2 separate regions of the Homo sapiens genome follow, and region 1 is linked to region 2. The links are contacts of gene promoters, found by promoter capture Hi-C in blood cells and fetal thymus (Javierre and others, 2016). All regions are on one chromosome and are shown on one strand. The core of a region is centred on a gene start or on the middle of the fragment in contact, and the rest is flanking DNA. Distances in the headings are between cores, read along the strand shown.

Region 1 (3,934 bases), core at 295-2,794, 93 kb before region 2:
TATGGATTATCATGATGTTAACACTGAACATTACATTACTAATGTTAACATTAGTGTTAACATTCTCAAGTGTTAACTTGAGAATTTTAGAAATCCACTTCATGATTTATGCTGGGGATTTAAATGGGCACAAAACCACTACGTCATTTTTTTATTTCATTAATATAATTTCAAGGGTTACTAATGTTATTTTTCCATGATCATTTCAAGTTGTCACACTTAGTATGCTTAACAAAACAACTTCTATTGATTCTCAGAAACACACATATTCAAATCTATTACAGACAAAAGGAACTCATCCATGATGAATGATACAAGCTTGGATCATTACCGGTTTAATGAGTTCACTTTCCACTTTCCGAGGGAATCCTGCAAAGTATACTTTGGTTTCCAGCAATCCATTTTCCGGCTTAAAAAGGGGTCCAGGTTTATTTATATCCATCACAGCTTCTTTAGCTATTTTAATGCTAATACTATGTTCTAATTCTTCCACAGACACCTACAATTAAAAAGAAAAATTACCAAATAACCAAGTATTACTACATGTCATTTGAAATACTGGGATCTAAAACTTATGTTATTATTCCAATAAAATACTTCTGTAAAGTAATCATTTTAATGTAATTATTAATTTGTTACAACTCATTTGGAATGTCAAATTATGATAAATGTGATAAAAAGGCATTTAGGGTGGCAGCACGATCAAAAATTAAAAGCATACCATATTTTAAAGTTAAAAAAAATACTATTCTGTTAAGCTTAAACATCCAGTTATATATCTTTCAATTCCAGGCTGCTAGAAAATTAACAATTAAGTGAGCCATTCTATCTTAGGAAAAATTTAAGTGGCCTTATTTTGCAATTGTCTGATAATACGCACATGGAATCAATAGTGTAAATAAGTTCTTTTTTTTTTTTTTTTTTTGAGACGGAGTCTCGCTCTGTCGCCCAGGCCAGACTGCGGACTGCAGTGGCGCAATCTCGGCTCACTGCAAGCTCCGCTTCCCGGGTTCACGCCATTCTCCTGCCTCAGCCTCCCGAGTAGCTGGGACTACAGGCGCCCGCCACTGCGCCCGGCTAATTTTTTGTATTTTTAGTAGAGACGGGGTTTCACCTTGTTAGCCAGGATGGTCTCGATCTCCTGACCTCATGATCCACCCGCCTTGGCCTCCCAAAGTGCTGGGATTACAGGCGTGAGCCACCGCGCCCGGCCCATAAGTTCTTAATATAAAGTAAGAAAAATCAATATGTTCACTATTCTGTTAATTGCACACAAATTATTTTTTCTTTAAAATTCAAAAGTGATTGAGGCAATAAGAAAAAAATACATAAAATTAAATTGGAGTTTTCCAATTTTGAGAGTTGTTTGGGTTTTTAAAAAAGGTTTCAAGTAAGGGTAAACAACAATAAAAATTCCTTCTACAAAGGCAATTTGAAGAACCACTGCTGCAATCACTTCAAGTAAAACTATAGCACTCAAAGAGCAAACTCTTCACTCACTAACCAATAATATAAGCCAAACAATAAGCATATTAAAACACCATGATAGGAAGGGAAAAACTATCCTCCAACATAAAATAAATTTAGTTACACAAATTTAAAGTTGGTCAACACTCCTTCTTTAATATAGCCAATTAGCAGCATGTGAACAACTATTCTCTCCTTTACAGACTTTCTTAACTTAGCCTACAACACTTGACCCTGATTGCTTCTCTTTCTACACTCTAACCACTACTTCTCAGTCTCCTTTGCTGGATCCTCCCCTCCCCACAGCTCAGGCCCCAGACCTTTTTCCTGTAGCCATGCAAGTATTTTAAGTGAGACACTATGACTCCACTCCAGGGCATTTGGAAAATTTGGAGGTGAGGAACACTTTTATTTGTCACAATGAGTAGGGGCCATGCTGGCACTGCAAGATGATAGACAATCTGCATTATGTACATAGGCTAGTCATGCAGAATTAATAATAATAAGTAATGCAGAACTAATAATAAAATATCAAGTATTCTTAAAATCTTTTGAACATCACTGCTAGGTATTCATGTAGGGAATATTCATGCTTACAATCATCTGAGTTTGTGCATACATAGACACAAAATATTTGCTGCACTATTTTAGCATTCATTACATTTTTCAAGAATGTAATAATCTTGACAACTAAGGATAGATTGATATTTGTTTTGTTCATATCTTTACCAGGAACTTCCCACCACTTTGGAAAATTAATATTACCAATGGCAACACCATGTATGCCCTTAATGGTACTTGAGTTGCTAATTTAACACCCCAGCATTAGTCTTCATTTGTAGCTTTTACTTTATGCATAGAAGCAAGCTTTGACAAGTGTTATAGTTATAGTTGACTACGTATATATTGAAATACATATTATTTTCTTATAAATTACTTTCCTTTTATTTATCCATATTAATATAATAATGACAGAATTATTTTGGTTTTGATTGGGTATATGTGAAGGTAGTTTATATTACTGATACATTTCATTATAGAATAGTAAAGGAGCATTATATATTTTCAGACATTGGATGAGATAGTGTTTGGAACCACTGGTCAACACAAACAGTTTCATGGCCTTAAAACCCCTCTTTATGCTGAGTATTCAAAAATTTTAATTGAAGGCTTAACTTCAAAAATATATCCAGAATCTGACCACTTCTTACCACTCTTACCATCAGCACACCAGTCAAACTGTCATCTTCTCTCCGCTGGGTTATTCCAACAGTCTCCTAACTCCATATCCCCATATCCTGTTATACACTCATTCTCCACTTCTGGTTTCCACAAAGCCATTAGCTTCTGATTGGGATTATCTTTTAAAATGCAAACTAGATCATGTCCCTTCTCAAAACCATCCAGGGCCTTTCAATTTAGCATAAAATCCACATCCTCATCATGGCCTCCAAGGCCCTAGATGATCTTATTCTAGACCACGTTTCTAACCTCATTTTCTAACTACTCTCCCCTGCTGCTACACTACTCTGTGTTATTCCTCAAATACCAAACACATCCTATTCCAAGAAATTCTGTACTTGCTGTTTACATGGTACAGAATCTTTTTATATTCCCTCATTTATTTCTCATGACATGTGCTCTCAAGTCTCAGCTCAGATCTAATCTCATCAGAGATGCCTTTCCTGATTCTATATGCATACTAACCACCATTACTCTCTATGTCTTTGTCTGGCTTTTCTTTTTCCTTATAACATGAATAACTATCTGGCATATTTATTTTTTCATGCATTTGTTGTTTGCGTCTCACCATTAGAACGCAAGCTCCATAAGAGCACTGACTTTTTTTTATTTGCTGTTGTATCTTTACCACCTAGAATAAGGATTAGCACATAGAAGTGCCAATAAATATTTTGCTGAATGAATTATGATACATTTACAATTAAAATTCCTATTAATATTAGACTCATAATCAAAGATAAGATGTAATCATTTATAAATTCACCACGTTTGCCCAAGTGTGCTTTGTTTGTACCTCTAATGTAATGTATTTCATGTTACATTATATTATTTCCCAAAGAAGCATCAGCTACTTATCTGTGAGGTACTAAGCTCTAGAGCAAGGAAAATCTCTTGCTATTGTTGCGGGAAGTCAGGGACCCCGAATGGAGGGACTGGATGGAGCCACAGCAGAGGAACATAAATTGTGAAGATTTCATGGACATTTATTAGTTTTCAAATAATACTCATAATTTCTTACACCTGTCTTACTTTAATCTCTTAATCCTGTTATCTTCATAAGCTGAGGATCTACATCACCTCAGGATCACAACTGTGTTAACTGTACAAATTGATTGTAAAACATGTGTGTTTAACAATATGAAATCAGTGCACCTTGAAAAAGAACAGAATAACAGCGATTTTAGGGAACAAGGGAAGACAACCATAAGGTCTGACTGCGTGCAGG
Region 2 (3,648 bases), core at 142-2,641:
AATCATTATATTCCCCGCGAATACACTGGGATTCTCAGTGCCTTCTATCCTTTCATCAGGATTTGAAAATATTTATTTAAGTAGAAAATGAATGGACACACAGATCCCTACATATTGTGCATAATTTTTTCCCTACAGGAATGTCCTTGTCATTTCTTTTTCTCCAAAGTATATAAAAGAAATGCAAATATTACATACCTCTTTAAAAAATAAACTATTACAAAACAGTCAAGAGATAACAATCTTCATCTTGCAGATACCAAATAGCCAGCAATTTATGTACCTAAAAATCCTGAAACAAACATACATCAAAATGGTTATTTATTTATTTTTGAGACGGAGTCTTGCTCTGTTGCCCAGACTGGAGTGCAGTGGCGCGATCTCGGCTCACTGCAACCTCCGCCTCCCGGGTTCAAGCAATTCCCCTGCCTCAGTCTCCAGCGTAGCTGGGACTACAGGCGCGTGCCACCACACCCGTTTTTGTTTTTTTTTGTTTTTTTTTTTTTGTATTTTTACTAGAGACGGGGTTTCACCATGTTAGCCAGGATGGTCTAGATCACCTGGCCTCGTGATCCGCCCGCCTCGGCCTCACAAAGTGCTGGGATTACAGGCGTGAGCCACCGCGCCCGGCCCCAAATGGTTATCTTTGAGAGCTCCTGTGAGATCTCATTTTCTTCATCTTGTTTCTTTTTAGTATTTTTCACATTTTCTACAAGAAATGCATTTTTCTTTTGTAATCACAATCCCCCCTACAACAAATATCATACAATTCCGTTTCACATATGTAACAGTAATAAACGTTTTAGAGATTAAGGCTTCACTCTCATCTGAACTACTGAGAAAATTTAGCAAGCGAATTTCCCCCTTGTCTTTAACTTACAAGAATTGCCCCAGTGTATTGTTCCTGTAGTCATGCTGCCTAAGTCGGCCAGAATTCTAGAGGGTCCCCATCCCTGAGCAAAAAACAAACAAACAAAAAACAAGAAAAAAGAAAGAAAGAAAAAGAAAAACCCATGCACAAGACCTGAGATCTCTGAATCTCAGTTGGGGACACTGGAGAAAGGAAAGGAACAGCACCGTGGATTGGCAACACATTTTATGTAGGTATAAAGATAGGCCTTGCTGGAGATTTGTCCCGGATCCTCCAGCTTATCTCCGGACGCTCCGGTTGCCTAGTTACGAGAACGAGCTACCTCGAGCTCCGCCTCCTTCTTATAGAGTACTCCCCTTTCTCTTTTCCTAGTCTCGCGCAGGGGCGGGTAGCCAGGACTCTTCAGCCACTCAGAGGCCTCTACCTCAGGACCTCAACCGATGATTGGGCGAGCGCAGTACGGGCGTTGCCTGGGGAACGCCTTCCGCGCCTCGAAGTAACGTCAGCACGTCGACGCGGGGCTTTTCTTTAGCCGGGTCCCGCTAACTCGGCTACGGTGTATCTGCGTCTTTGGTCAGGTTGTTCCTTGGCTAAGAGGGCAGTCGTCGCGGACCCACGCGGTTAGCAAGGCTTAGTGCTCGGGCCGGCCGCCTTCACTTCCCTCCCGGCTTTTCCTCCCGACTTATCCACTTTAGGGGCGTCTCGGAGTGCCGGAGGCCCCCGGGGAAGAGCGGGGTGCCGGTGTCCGCTCCGGGCTCGGATGGGAAGTGGTGGGAGGAGCGACCCGGGATGTTCAGTCTGATGGCCAGTTGCTGCGGCTGGTTCAAGCGGTGGCGGGAGCCTGTCAGGTAGGCTGGAGCCAGCTGTCCTGGCCGTCCTAGGGGTTGGAGATGGCTGCGCCCCAGGGGCGAGGCGCCGCCTTTTCCCCGCGCCTGGACGAGTCTATCCCAGGCCGCAAGGGATGCTTTCATTCCCAGGGTGTCCCGGGAGGGAGAGATTGGAGGATGTAGCCTTGTTGTCTGGTCGACTTTCTGTTGCGATTGACAATGCTTACCGTTGTTATATTTTAAATAGGTTTGAATTTGTTAAAAAGTGTGTGTGTGTGTGTGTGTGTGTGTGTGTGTGTGGAATTGAAAACTATCCATTGTGTGTTTTTCCTCTGAAGCTTTTGTAATGGAAATTCTTTTAAAAAGAGGGGGACATGGAATATAGTTTTCATAATATCCGCACATTCCATTCCAAGTCACACCTCCACACAGTTGTATTTGAGGACGTGGGCTTGAAATCTGGCTCCACTACTTAATAATTACATGACTCAACCATTTTGGCCCCACCTTTCTTAAATATTAAATGAGAGTGATAATACTCTGCTTTAGAAATATTGTATTCAATGAGAACAAGTGATAGTGTTTTCTTAACTGTAATGTAGCTTCCAATTTTTATACGGTCTCTAGTAAAACCTTTTAATTGAAAGGGTCCACTTTTTAACATTTCATTTTGAAATGCTGGAAGTATTAATAATTAGTACCTGTTACTTGATATTCATTCATTCAAAAAATATTTATTAAGACAATACCTTGTGCCAGGCACTGTCTTAGGAAATAATCAGTGAAATTGATGCTTTTGAAACTGAGGCCTAACCTATAAAGAGATCTTGTGTTTGTTACACAAATAATGTTGACTTCACATAGTTCTAGTCTGGAATTGGGCCAAGGGTAAGATAAAGCAAAGTTGTTTTTTTTTTTAAATTGTTAACATTTTAAGTATATTTGCCATGAGAATGAACTATCCTTTAAAGAATGAATCTGAAAAGCTACACTTACACATTATAACAGAAAATACATGTCTAGATTGGAAAAAAAGTAACTTTAAATGAAACTAGAGATTCTTCCCCATTATTAGCTCCTAACTGAATTTGAATGTTTTAAATATAAGTAGTAAGATCAACTCTGTAAGTCAAAGATGGGCTGGGTGTGGTGGCTCACGCCTGTAATCCCAGCACTTTGGGAGGCCGAAGCTGGCCGATCTTTGGAGCCCTGGAGTTCGAGACCAGCCTGGTCAATATGGCGAAACCCCGTTTCTACAATAAAATAAACGGGCACGGTGACGCACGCCTGTAGTCCAAGCTACTTCGGAGGCTGAATCAGTAGGATCACTTGAGCCTGGGAGGCGGAGGTTGCAGTGAGCCGATATCGCTGCACTCCCTGAGTGACACAGTGCAACCCTGTCTCAAAAAAAAAAAAAAAAAAAAAAAAGAAAAAAGTCAAAGAGTTGTTTTAGGTGCATAGATTCTGATTTATTTGCTTTAATTATATTCTGGTCTAATTTCACAGTATCTACTAAGACTTGAGGGTCATTCATAATAGTTGACCCCTCATTTTCCTCCGTGTCTGCTTTTAAGAAATGTATTTGGTTTCTGTGAAGGCATGTATATAACTTACGTTCTTTTAACGAGAAACAGTGAAAACGTGTAATTCGAAGAAGGAGTGTTCAATTTAATTCATCATTCTTAGTCTTTCCTTTTCTTAGCAGCTTTTGTATATATACTCTCTGGAATGATTTGTTTAAAGAGAAGAGTTCAGAGAAAGGAGAATGTATTGATTTCCAAGTAGAACAGATAATTGAATTTTCTTAATAAAGCATTATTAAAATTTAGCTGCATAACCCAGAGTGTATTTTCTTCTTTAATAAGCACCATCTAGATTTGTCCTGTCCAGTAGGGTAACAACGAGCTACACGTGGCTGTTGAGCACTTGAAATGTGGCTAGTCTGAATTA

What was found. The method cuts DNA at HindIII sites, captures the fragments that hold promoters and counts their contacts. A CHiCAGO score of 5 or more calls a contact.
Region 1: a contact is called between a fragment that was not itself captured here and the fragment with the promoter of ARL13B in region 2, in 1 of 17 cell types (megakaryocytes). The highest score is 5.2, in megakaryocytes.

What each region holds. Positions count from the first base shown.
Region 1 is chr3:93,886,005-93,889,938 of GRCh38, forward strand. It overlaps PROS1 (protein S), which reads right to left. Exons shown (of 15, transcript NM_000313.4): 11 at 332-499. Among named protein-coding and RNA genes, the nearest start is that of PROS1, 86 kb to the right of the region's middle. The HindIII fragment of the contact is 1,576 bases long and covers 757-2,332 here.
Region 2 is chr3:93,978,764-93,982,411 of GRCh38, forward strand. ARL13B (ARF like GTPase 13B) reads left to right here and starts at 1,392. Exons shown (of 10, transcript NM_001174150.2): 1 at 1,392-1,719. The coding sequence starts at 1,661. RefSeq lists enhancers at 1,000-1,159, 1,430-1,559. The HindIII fragment of the contact is 5,745 bases long and covers 1-2,034 here.